Regions from separate parts of the Homo sapiens genome. Here region 2 is linked to region 1. Evidence: promoter capture Hi-C in human tissues and cell types (Jung and others, 2019). All regions are on one chromosome and are shown on one strand. The core of a region is centred on a gene start or on the middle of the fragment in contact, and the rest is flanking DNA. Distances in the headings are between cores, read along the strand shown. Region 1 holds the start of NME9 (NME/NM23 family member 9). Region 2 overlaps DZIP1L (DAZ interacting zinc finger protein 1 like).

What was found. The method cuts DNA at HindIII sites, captures the fragments that hold promoters and counts their contacts. A contact is called where the count stands out against the background at its distance.
Region 2: a fragment that was not itself captured here is called in contact with the fragment with the promoter of NME9 in region 1 in 1 of the 25 tissues and cell types used here (spleen).

The regions. Positions count from the first base shown.
Region 1 is chr3:138,325,178-138,332,136 of GRCh38, reverse strand. NME9 (NME/NM23 family member 9) reads left to right here and starts at 2,286. Exons shown (of 11, transcript NM_001349018.2): 1 at 2,286-2,834. The coding sequence starts at 2,802. LOC124909438 (a long non-coding RNA gene) reads right to left here and starts at 2,204. Exons shown (of 2, transcript XR_007096113.1): 1 at 1,967-2,204. The HindIII fragment of the contact is 18,429 bases long and covers 1-6,959 here.
Region 2 is chr3:138,103,392-138,109,686 of GRCh38, reverse strand. It overlaps DZIP1L (DAZ interacting zinc finger protein 1 like), which reads left to right. Exons shown (of 16, transcript NM_173543.3): 2 at 5,635-6,216. The coding sequence starts at 5,716. Among named protein-coding and RNA genes, the nearest start is that of DZIP1L, 9.1 kb to the left of the region's middle. The HindIII fragment of the contact is 3,985 bases long and covers 830-4,814 here.

The sequences.
Region 1 (6,959 bases), core at 1,037-3,536:
CAAAAACAACAACAACAAAAAAAACCATTCACCTGTGTCACAAAACATGTAAAAGATGGAAGTTTTATTAAAAAGCAGGAGTGGCCCAAGGTGATTCATCTGGGAAAAAACTGATGAGGTTCCATGTTGTCCAAACTGTAATTTTTTTTTTCTTTGAGATGGAGTCTTGTTCTGTCACCCAGGCTGGAGTGCAGTGGCACGATCTTGGCTCACTGCAACCTCCGTCTTCTGGGTTCAAGTGATTCTCCTGCCTCAGCCTCCCAAGTAGCTGGGATTATAGGCATGCACCACCAGGCCCAGTTATTTGATACTTTTTTTTAGTAGAGACAGGGTTTCACCATGTTGGCCAGGCTCCTGCCCTCAAGTGATCCACCTGCCTCGGCCTCCCAGAGTGCTGGGATTACAGGCGTGAGCTACTGCACCCTACCCAAACTGTACACTTTTGAAAGTGAGAGGGGTTGCTATTAATAATTGCATGGGACAACAGGTGAAAAGTGGGGGTGTCCCAGGCAAACTGGGACATGTGGTTTACCTAAATTTGTTTCTGAGGTTTAGCCTGGCAAAGATGTGAGTACATTTTGTAATAGAGACCACATGGTAAGAAATTTAACCCTTTCAGAAAGAATAAATGTCACTATCTTTCCATGTGCTGGCAAGAGGAATTTAGCATCTGATTTGAATTTTATTTTGGAAACTAAATTCTAAGGGAGATTCCACACCATTCAAGAGCTTCAGCAACCACCACCTTGTGGCAATGAACATGATTTGCATCTAGTCAACTCAGTTTGCAATGTGGTGTCTTAAGGACTGCCTGTGGCTCTGCGTAATATTATCATGGAACTGAATATTGCCATGGGACTGAATGCAAGAAAAGAGTAGGTGGATTCGGAGCTGAAGTGGGAGAAGGCAGGATGACAGGTAGGAAGATGTTCGGTCTCCAGTATACCCATCGCCCTGTACTTCACAGAGGGTTGCTGGGTACCTCATGGCCAAACAGGGTATCAGCACTCCCTGGATGGAAATCATTTGGTGTATGCTTCACTTAGGAAGAATTGATATCTTAACAATATTAATTCTTCCTATCCATGAACACGGAATATTTCTTCATTTATTTAAATCTGTGAGATCTCTTTCATCAGCTGTGATTGATTCCTAGTTTAATTCTATTGCAGTCAGAGAACATACTTTGTTCTATCCTTTTAAATTTGTTAAGCTATGTTTTATGGCCTAGATTGTGGTCTATCTCAGTGAATGTCCCATGTGAGCTTGAGAAAGAATCTATATTCCGCTGTTGTTGAACTAAATATTGCATAAATGTCAATTAGATCAATTTGATATTTTTCAGTTCAACTATATCCTTGCTCATTTGCTTCTGCTGGATGTATTAATTACTTTTTAAAAATGGTATGAAAGCATTCTATTATAATACTGAGTTTACCTATTTTTCCTTGCAGTTTTATCTTCTTTTGCCTCACATATTTCGGTGCTCTGTTTTTAAGTACATACATATTAAGTATTGTTATGTCTTCCCAAATAACTGATCCCTTTAACTTTATGTAATGTCCCTGTTTATACCTGATAAATTTCCTTGTTCTGAAGTCTGCTTTTCTTGAAATTAACATACCTACTTCAGCTATTTTTTTAATTAGTGTCAGCCTGGTATAGCTTTCTCTATCCTTTTGCTTTTAATGTATTTTCTTGTGGATAACACACGATTGGGCTTTGTTTGTTTTTGAAATCCATTCTGACAATCTCTTTTTTAATTGGTGTAATCAGATTATTCACATTTAAAGTGGTTATTGATACAGTTGGATTAATATCTACAATGTCTGTAACTGTTTTGTATGTGTCTCACTTGACTTTCATATCTAATTTTGAATTTGTAATTTCATATTCTTTGCCTTAAAGAGAACGCTTGCAGATCCCTCAAAACCTGGAGACACCCCCCACCTTGCACACATTATACCGGTATGTGATGGTAGAAAAGCTGCACATCAGTCTTGGCAGGCAGGGCAGGAGGGATGCAGGGATTCACAGATGCGACTGTGCAACGCACAGATGCACTGGGTCTTTGCTTGGTGGGTTCGAAGCCTCCAGACGCTGACAAACACTGCAGCCAATGAGTGGGTTCCTATGGTCCGATATGGAGGGCAAGGGGCGGGACTCCCTCCTGCCTCTCCCTGGCTGGGTTCAGAGCCTCCGCGGAGAGACTGCGTTGGGCCCAGAGTGGGCGTGGCTTACGTGTCCGCCGGCTTTCCTGGCAGGCCTGGCGGGGGGGCCAGGTTGCCATGACGACCGCGGCTAGGTCGCGGCAGACTCGGTTGGTGACTCCGGGCGCGTCGAAGATCTTGTACCTGTCGTTCGCAGTGGCTCACTTTCCCAGTAATCCATAAGAACAGCAGGGATAACAGGGTCCCATGTCGTTTTTTTGTCAGAATTCCTCGACTGGCGACCCTGTGCCCGACAGGCTGCACCGCGCCCGGCGCACTGACTCCGGCCTCTGCGCGCGCCCCCTGGCCGGCTCCGGGGTGGGGAGGGGGCTTCGCAGATCCCCAGAAAACCGCCCGGCGAGCCACGAGCCCGTGGACTGCAGGCTCCGCTTCCTCGCGGGGTGTTCACTTTGTATCAGTGTGCTGATTTGCCGCCAGTTAGAAGCACCTTAAAAAGGGGCCGGGGGCCGTAGGAGGGGGGCTTGTCTGAAGGAGGCTCTGGGCTTGCTGATCCACGCAGCGGTTTGTCGCGAGGCTGCGGGGGAACGGCCCACGGCCGCGGTAACAGGGCTTCGTCTTCTTTGCAGAGCCATGGGCAGCAGGAAGAAGGAAATTGCCCTGCAGGTAAGCCTCAAGGGGCGCTAGCTTCCAGCTCTGGGTTGGGCTCGGGGAAGAGGAGGGTGATTAGAGCGGGGTTGCAGTATAAAAGTGACATTCTGTTTGCCAGCAGTACGTGACAGTGTTCTCAAACTTGAGTGATGTACCCTTCCGTCTTAAAGGGACAAAACTTATCTTGGAACCCCAGTGATGACAAATTTTACGCAAACAAAATTAATGCAAACAAAACTGAGTAGAAGCTGTTTACATTTATAGTGCTTATACAACCATAAAACCTAAACATGCATTAAATAAAACTATAAACTAAGAAAATACGAATCAACATAACTCGATGTGACCGTTATTTTGTTCTTGTTGAAATACAACTGCAGCTTGCACAGAGAATACAGTATAGGTTCTTTTGACTTTGGGCATGAGTCTGTAACTGTGTGCTCTGTGGAGACCCAGTTTTCCCACCACTGTTCTCATCAAATTTCACTTATTAACAAATATGTTTTGAGATATATTATGTGCTGGACATATGTTATATAGAGTGTCTTACTTCATTTGCATGTGGGACAAGTGAATTCAGAAGCCAGCAGCTGCTCTTCTTCTTGGTCCTGGACAATAGATAGTGGTTGATTCTGAAGTGATGGTAAAAACATGCAGGCATAGACCCTGGAATTAGGAGAGAGTGCTTGGTCATAAGGAGATCAGCTGGATGATCTGCAACATGGGAACATTTTAAAACGAACTTAAAATGCCTCATCATCAGCTGGCCCCAGTAAGATGCATACCAAGGCTACAGCGCCTCCTAGATAATAGAGCATTAGTGGTTTTGAGACATCTGGTTTCTCTCTTATTGTCCTCAGCAGGACCAGCAGTTTGCATGTGGATTTCAAAAGCCTAGTGGTTTAAAAAAGAGGAAAGGGGAAAGCAGCATCATTCTAAGGGTACCCCATGCTGGGGGTGGGAGGGGTGTGGGGTGGGGTGGGGTGGGATTTTTAGACTGGAAGTCAGAAGACCTGATGTAGTTCTTGTGTCCTCTATAGCCAACTGTGTCTTTGACTACATCACATAACCTCTCCAGGCTATAGCTTGCCCATCTATGGAATGAGGATGTTGTGTGAATTATCCCTAAGGGCCTTCTTCCAGCCTTGATATTCTAGGATTCTAGAGTCAGAAGCCACTTCATACGTGAATGTTCTGGTTGAAGTAAATTCTGATCAACTGGTCCTACCATTCATTGCTGTGTGACTCATTTCCTCAACTCTCTGGCCTCCGTATCCTTTACGTAGACAGGAGGGATGATACCTGTCCTGTAACGCCTGCAGAGCTGTGATGAGACTCCTTTAGACACTTCCTGGCTGGTCTGATGTTGTCTGTGGTGTCTCTAATGTTATTGCCCCATATTATGGTCATTTCATGTGTTGATGCCCTAGAGCTCCTATGGGGGTAATAACTTTTGTTAGCAATGTTGTTATTTTTTCATGTGTATTACTCAGAGCTCTGAGTACAATGCAGTACTCAAACTAAGTGCTCCCTCCTGCTGAAAGGAGGAGAGCGAGCAGCCTCCCCTCCCGTCTTCTACTGAGGCATCTGTGTAAAGGTCACCTCTCTATAAGGTAAACCCCTTGAAAGCAATGCCTAAAGTTGGCCAACCCAGGAACCTTGTCCTCTCTCTCAGCAAGGTTATTCAGGGTTCCCTTTATAACTGAGACAGGCAGAAATCACAGGACATCAAGGGACAGTCTGGGTAAAAGGTGCCACACATTCCCTATTCATTCCCTACCAAATGCAGGCTTAGTGAAGTCCGGATAGTTCCCACACTGTTCCACTCTTGCCTGGCTCCCAGGGCTGAGATTCTTCAACTGCCCAGAGTCCTGGCCCCAGAGCTGGTGGGACTCACTCCATGACAGGGGTGGGCCACAGAGAGCTGCTGGTGACTTAAGTCTGAGCCTCTGGGTAGGGGTGTGGGGCCCTTCCGAACGCTTCTATCACCTTCCTCAGGACTGTAGTTGTGGGCCCAGGGTTATGTCAGTCCAACTCTCTTATTTCATTTAAGACATCAAGAAGACTTTTCTGGGTTTCTTTTTCTTCTACTTTTCATTGAAACAAAAAAAGTAAGGACTATGCTTCCTTAAAAGAGAGACTTTTTTTTTTTTTTTTTTGAGACAGTTTCATTCTGTCCTGTCGCCCAGGCTGGAATGCAGCGGCATGATCTCATCTCAGTGCAACCTCCACCTCTCACGTTCAAGCAGTTCTCATGTCTCAGCCTCCCGAGTAGCTGGTAAAACAGGTATGCGCCACCACGCCCGGCTAACTTTTTTTTTTTTTTTTTTTTTTTTTTAGTAGAGGCAGGGTTTCACCATGTTGGCCAGGCAGGTCTGAAACTTCTGGCCTCAAGTGATCTGCCCGCCCTGGCCTCCAAAAGTGTTGGGATTACAGGCATGAGCAACCACGTTCGGCCAAAAAAGGAACTTTTAATAGAGGATTAGCAGTTGTTACATGTTTCTTGCCCTTATTGCCAATAATGCATCCTATCTTTTTTAGAGGGACACAGACCTTAGCATACCTGTATTAAGAACAATAGTAGGCCAGGCGTGCTGGCTCATGCCTGTAATCCCAGCACTTTGGAAGGCCGAGGCAGGCAGATTACTTGAGGTCAGGAGTTCACGACCAGCCTGGCCAACATGGTGAAACCCTGTCTCTACTAAAAATACAAAAAATTACCCGGGTGTGGTAGCGGGCACTTGTAATCCCAGCTACTTGGGAGGCTGAGGCAGGAGAATCTCTTGAACCCAGGAGGCAGAGGTTGCAGTGAGCCATGATCATGCCACTGCACTCCAGACTGGGTGACAGAGTGAGACTGTGTCTCAAAAAAGACAAACAAAAAACCCAGTAGTAATTTTTGTGGTCTTTTAATGTATATAGTTTCAAAGTAGCTCACCACAAAAATATGTTAATTACAAAGGAAAAGAGAATAATTTTACAGACAACAGACCTGACAGACCATGTTAATCCAGTGATCAAAGTGAACATCAGTAACAGGCAGATGGAAATTGTGTCTCATCTGCTAGGGAGTAGTGAGAGGAATGATCTTCAGCTTCTCCAACACTCCAACCAGTCCAGCCAATTTCAACCAGTCCAAACATGCACAGTCTGAATCCAATCAGGAGGAAACATCAGATATGCCCCAACTGAGGGACATTCTACAAAATACCTGGCATGTAGTTTTCCAAAGTGTCAACATTGTGAAAAGAAGAGAAAGACTAAAGAACTATTCCAGACTAAAAAGACTTGACAAATAAATCTAGCACACATTTCTGATTAGCTCCTTTGATACTCAGGACATTATGGGATAAATAGGAAAACTTGCACTCTATCTAAGGATTAAATGTTCACAATATGTCAGTGTTTTTTTCCCCTGATTTTGATTATCGTAATGTGTTATATAGGAATAATATATTCAGGAGTAATAAGATAACAAGCTGTAATTTGCTTCCAAATACCTAAAAAAAAAAAAAAAAAAATCCCTAAATCTTTATACTGTACTTGCACACTTTCTCTAAGTTTGAAATTATTTCAAAGTAAAAAACATTATACAGAAATGTTTACTATTGGCCAGATGTGGTGGCTCATGCCTGTAATCCCAGCACTTTGGGAGGCCGAGGTGGGCAGATCACTTGAGGTCAGGAGTTCGAGACCAGCCTGGCCAACATGGTGGAACCCCGTCTCAACTAAAAATACAAAAATGGCCAGGTGTAGTGGCATGTGCCTGTAATCCCAGCTCCTCAGGAGGCTGAAGCATAAGAATCGCTTGAACCTGGGAGGCAGAGCAGAGGTTGCAGTGAGCTGAGATTGCGCTTCTGCACTCCAGCCTGGGTGACAGAGCAAGACTCCATCTCAAAAAAAAACAAAAAAAAAAAAAGAAATTTTTACTGTTAATAAAGAGGGACAATATGTATTTCTCCTTGTATTTCATATTTATAAAACCAGAACTGTGTGGATAAGAAAAAAATGTGAGTGAATGGCAATAAATTCAACTTAATTCTGATACTGAGTGAAAACACAAATTTCAAAATGAAACCTACAGTTTGATGTATTTATGTACATTTTAAGGACACAAAAACAATTTATATATTGTTCCTG
Region 2 (6,295 bases), core at 1,573-4,072, 220 kb after region 1:
TTGTTAATAGTGCTGCAATAAATATATGTGTGCATGTATCTTTATAGTAGAATGATTTATAATCCTTTGGGTACCTACACAGTAATGGGATTGCTGGGTCAATTTGTATTTCTGGTTCTAGATCCTTGAGGAATCGCCACACTGTCTTCCATAATGGTTGAACTAATTTACACTCCCATATGGTGGTAATCATTTATAAGCAGGGCCTTGAAACATGTGTCAACCTTTAATTGGAACAAAAGGAGGTGGCAAAGGACCATCTATACCAAGAGGCAGCATAGAATAGAGGCTAGCCCAGACTGGAGCCAGGCTGCCTGGGTGTGAATCTTGCCTCTGGATCTTGGGCAAGCTTCTTTATTTCTCTGTGGCTTAGATGATAATAGTACCTCCTCAAGGGCTTGTCCTGAGAAATAGATGAGTGCTTCTTTGTAAAGCATTTAAAAACAGTGTCTATACATAAAATAAACAGCCCAGAAGTGTGAAAGTGTGGAAGGCAAGTAATATGGTAAATGGGAGATGCAGCTAGAGAGGTACTTTTGGAAGCAGTTCATCAAAGTCTTTGAATATCACTCAGTGTATTTGGAATTAGCCAATAAGGAACACAAAATCCATTCCCCTGTGGCTGGAGCTCAATAGTGGTTTCCCACCTTAAACAGGGCCTGCACTCTCAGGTTTGCCACAATCCCTAATGTTTCCTAGCCCAGCACTCCACAGATTTAGTGGTTCTAAATCAGTAAGTCTGGGGATCTGCATTTCTAACAAATTCCCAGGTGATGCTGATGCTGCTGGTCCAGAGACCACACTTTGAGAACCACTGCCTTATTGTACCTTGGACAATAAGATGGAGAATGAGTTGCCATTTATCATCACACATGTACTGTGGTTTCTTTCATATCTGCTACATTTTGTGCATTTAATGTTACTTTTCTGGCCCTGGTGGAACTTGGGTTTGCAATTCCTGGCATTATCAGTATGGAATGGTTGGGTATAAGATCACAAGAGACCGAGGGGCTAGAGAGAAAGAGATTTGGGGGTGACTGAGGCTCAGCCTAGAGCAAGCCTATAGTAGCTGAAGCTGTGAGCTCATTCCTAGGGATAGCGTGCAGGGAGAAATGGGTTGCAGGTGGATAGCAGAATATCAAGGGGGCAGTGGCACACCCTGTCATAAAAGAAAGGGGAAAGAATAGCCACTGTTTAAGGAAGAGCATTCAAAAAGGTAGGAGGAGAGATGAGAGAGAGAGTGGCTGATGGAGAGTTCTTGACTTTATTATTAGAGAGAGGACTGTTGGCAAACATCTGACGCCAAAGCTTAAATAGTTAAACAGTGCAGTTCTCAGGTGAGCTCACCTGAGAGCTGGGACATCAGGAAGCAGGTGTCTTATTACCCTTGCCCACAGCATGCCTGGTAACCTGCTGTTGCTCCGAGGCACAGCTTGTTGTGAGTAGTCGTCTCTGAGGCTCTGGTGGCACAGTTGCAGCTTTGGAGCTAAGCATGGTGAGTATCATGTCACCCATCTCTACTCAAAATACAAAAAATTAGCCAGGCATGGTGGCGGGCACCTGTAGTCCCAGCTACTTGGGAGGCTGAGGCAGGAGAATGACGTGAACCTGGGAGGCAGAGCTTGCAGTGAGCCGAGATCGCGCCACTGCACTGTTTCATAACATGGCAGAAATGTGCTAGTCTTCTCATGGCCATGGTGGGGGTGCTTATGTCAGGCTGGTTTTCTTTTTGGAGTACTTGTTGGGAAAGAGTATCTGAGAAAGGGAAGGATGGATCTGAAACTGAAAAGGTGGGCCAGTGGCATCCTGTAGGCAGTCTCAAGACCAGGCTGAGAGGTTTGCGTTTGGTACAGTGGGAATAGGGAGCCATGCTGAGCTCCAGGGTGGGGAGCAGCTGTGTGGTTAATATGGCTCCATAGCCCAGGACCTGAGCTTGGGCTGGGCCCACATAGGCATACTATAAATGAGGAGTGAGTAAATGGATGAATTGGAGGTTTAAGGGATAAAGGATGATAATCTGATCAAAGCAATATTTTAGGAGGAATAGCCCCAAGAATCAATGTTGAGTGGTTCAGAGTCCATAAGCTTTGGTGCCAGATGAACCTACAATTACACTTCAAATCTGGTCTCCTGTTTTCATCCATTTTGTACTGTTGCAACAGAATGACACAGACTGGGTAATTTATAAAGAAAAGAAATGTATTTCTCACAGTTCTGGAAGCTTAAGTCCAATATCAAGTCCAATATCAAGCTTGAAGTCCAATATTGGGCAAGGGCCTTCCTGCTGCATCATCTCCTGGTGGAGAGTGGAAGGTCAAGAAAGCATAAGAGCAAGAGGGAAGGGGACTGAATTCCTCCTTTCATCAGGAACCTACTCCTGTGATAACTAACCCACTCCTACAATAATGACATTCATCCATTCATGAGGGCAGAGTCTTCGTGACTTAATCACCTCTTAAATGTCCCATCTCTCAACACTGCTGCATTGGGGATTGAGTTTTCAACATATGACCTTTGGGGGATGCCACTGAACCACTCCAGAAACCAGTTTCCTTATTTGTAAAATGAGAATAATAATACCTGTTTGTAGGTTTGTATTAGGAGTTTGTATCTAGCACAGAGGGTGACACTCCCTGCAGAGCTGCCATTGTTATCACTGAGCACCTTCCCCTTGCATCTTCTCCAAGTCTCATAGCACCCTGTGAGGTAGGCAGGGCTGGCCTGTCACTGCCTTTCACAGAAGAAGACAGTGGCTCAGTGGGGTCAGGGGCTGTTCCTGGAGGCCCTTCTCTCTCTCTCTTTCTCTCTCTCTCTCTCTTTTTTTTTTGGCCAACCTAGTCCTACCACTTTTTTTTGAGACGGAGTCTCGCTCTGTCACCCAGGCTGGAGTGCCGTGGCGCGATCTCGGCTCACTGCAAGCTCCGCCTCCCAGGTTCACACCATTCTCCTGCCTCAGCCTCCCGAGTAGCTGGGACTACAGGTGCACGCCACCACGCCCGGCTAATTTTTCTATTTTTAGTAGAGACGGGGTTTCACCATGTTGGCCAGGATGGTCTCAATCTCTTGACCTCGTGATCCACCCACCTTGGCCTCCCAGAGTGCTGGGATTACAGGCGTGAGCCACTGCGCCCAGCCTAGTCCTACGATTTTTTAAAGGCCTTCTTCCTTCTGAAGCTGATGACTTCTTTGACTTTCTATTGCACTTTTTAAAGTGCACTTTCTATTGCACTTTTTAAAGTCTGAATCATGGGCCGGGTGCAGTGGCTCATACCTGTAACCCCAGCTCTTTGGGAGGCTGAGGCGGGTGGATCACGAGGTCAGGAGTTTGAGACCAGTGTGGCCAACATAGTGAAACCCTGTCTCTACTAAAAATACAAAAAATTAGCCAGGTGTGGTGGAGTGTGCCTGTAATCCCGGCTACTCTGGAGGCTGAGGCAGGAGAATTGCATGAACCCGGGAGGTGGAGGTTGCAGTAAGCCGAGATCGCGCCATTGTATTTCAGCCTGGGCGACAGTGCGAGACACTGTCTCAAAAAAAAAAAAAAAAAAAAAAAAAAAAAGAAAGAAGACTGAATCATGTAATCTCGAAAGACTTGATTAAATAGGGTAAAGTGTACCTCTTGTTGCCTTAGTCAGATTCTCACTTCTGCAAGAACTGAAATTCTATGTTTTATTTTAAAAAATAATAAAAGTGATAGAAGATGATGATAAGAAGTTTGAATAGTACAGAGAGGTAGAAAGTGAAAAATAAAAGTCCTGTAATCTCTATTTTCACTTCCCAGAGGCAGCCATTGCTAATAGCTTCTTGTCTATCTTTCCAGAAACAGTCTATGCTTATGAAATAATATACATAAGTGAATCATACATATGAATTATAAATGAGCATATTTTATTCATTATAAAACTAATTATAACAAATATGAGTCTTTCATATGTATGTGTGTGTATGGGTGTATATATATGTTGACTCTCCATATCTGTGGATCTGCATCCACAGATTCAACAAACTGCGGATCAAAAATATTTGAAAAAAAAAGGATAGTTTCTTCTGTACTGAACATGTACAGAGTTTTTTTCTTGTCATTATTCCTAAATAATTAAGTATAACAGCTATTTTTATAGCATTTACATTGTATTAGGTATTATAAATAATCTAGAGATGATTTAGAGTGTGTGCGAGAATGTGTATAGGTTATATGCAAATACTACACCATTTTGTATAAGCAATTTGAGCATCTGTAGATTTTGGTATCTGAGGAGGGTCCTGGAACCAATCCCTCATGGACACTGACAGACGACTGAATATGTATATATATATATATTTATATAAAATGATCATCATTGGTCTGTGAAGGCCTATTTACCTGTCTATCTGACCATCACCACCCACACACCATCCATCCATTTATTTATCCCCATTCCACACTCCCATTTCCCTCCCTCCTCTCATAGACAACCATTCTAATATGATATATATCTTTCACTTTGGTGAGTTATTAAATATGATTATATTAATATGTCATTAAAACAGAAATAGAGGTATATATGCCTATTTTGTGTGTGTTTACATATATATATATTGGAGATTATCATTTCATATCAGTACATGTAAGTCTGCTTTATACCAATCAATAGCTGCATAATATTCCATTGCATAGAGATACATTGTACTTTGCTTTCTTCTACTTTTTCTTTTACTTTGCTTTTATAAAAGATGCTACAATGACAATTTTTTCACAAGTACCTTTGTACATATGAGTTTGTAGCATAATTATAATTTTTAGTAGTGGAATGTTCAAAATTCCCATTGATATTGTCAAATTACTTTTCAGAGAGAACAGTTCATATGCTCACCAAGAGTTTAGAGAGTAGAATCTGAGTCTTGGCAAAGAAACTAGAGATCTTTTTACTTAACTATTAAGTTAAAAAAAAGCCCATGATGGATTGAGCACCATGTGGCAGAGACTCCGTAACTCTCTTAAGCCCCTCCTGACAGGGGTGGACATCATTTCACTCACATTCCAGGAGAGAGAACTTAGTCATATGATCACACGTTATTGCTGGAGAAGCTGGGAAAGGTAGTTCACTCGTGTTCCATTAGAATCCTGTAGTTATATGAGAAAGAGAAGACAGGGTGGACATTAGGAACCTTGGTCACTCACAGCAAGTTGTCGGACTTTATCTTGAGATAAAAATAGGGTTGCAGAAGGACCCATTTGTAAATTTGATAGTCACCTGCTGACAAAGGCCTTTGCCAGGCATTCCTGCAGTGGAGGTGGGCTTTGCAGAGGGGGCTCACTGAGGACCTGCTATGTGCCAGGCACTAGGCTGGGTGCTTCACTTGCCTCATTCCTCACCACAGGCCTGCACAGTGGGACCCATGTTCCTCCTTAGACACAGGAGGCTTAAAGATGTGCAGGGACTTGCCCAAGGCAGAGCATTCGAATCCACATCTGTGTGATTGCAAAGCCCATGTTTTCTTTCCACAGCTCTGGCCATGTCAGCACACACCATGAATGCTACAGCTGCTGCACAGACACCTCACTTTGCCCCGCTTAGGCCCTTGCTGGCCAGATATACAGTAGGTGCAGCCACACACACCTCACCTAACTTGGACTCTCTTCTTATTTTCCAGGCCTTCTCTCAGCTCCTTGGCCTACTGCCGTGGCCTTGGTGCCCCCCTCCTCTGGTGGTCAGCTCAGGGCTTCCTCTGCCCATGCAGTCCCCAGCTGCCACTGCTGAGGGCCTCAGTGGCCCCCTCTTTGGGGCCTACACGTTCCCCACCTTCAAGTTTCAGCCTCGCCATGATAGCATGGACTGGAGACGCATTAGCACCCTGGATGTAGACCGCGTGGCCCGGGAACTGGATGTGGCCACTCTGCAGGAGAATATTGCTGGCATCACCTTCTGCAACTTGGACCGGGAGGTGTGCAGCCGCTGTGGGCAGCCTGTGGACCCGGCACTGCTCAAGGTGCTGCGCCTGGCGCAGCTCATCATTGAGTACCTGCTGCACTGCCAGGATTGCCTGAGTGCCAGTGTTGCCCAGCTGGAGGCACGGCTGCAGACCAGCCTGGGCCAGCAGCAGCGTGGTCAGCAGGAGCTGGGACGCCAGGCTGACGAGCTCAAGGGTGTGCGGGAGGAGAGCCGCCGGCGTCGCAAGATGATCAGCACCCTGCAGCAGCTGCTAATGCAGACAGGCACCCACAGCTACCACACGGTGAGGAATCTCCACCAGGCAGGGAGAGTGGGAGGGCTGTGTGCCCCAGCCACTGGGGCAACTGTTGCCACTGGGCAGC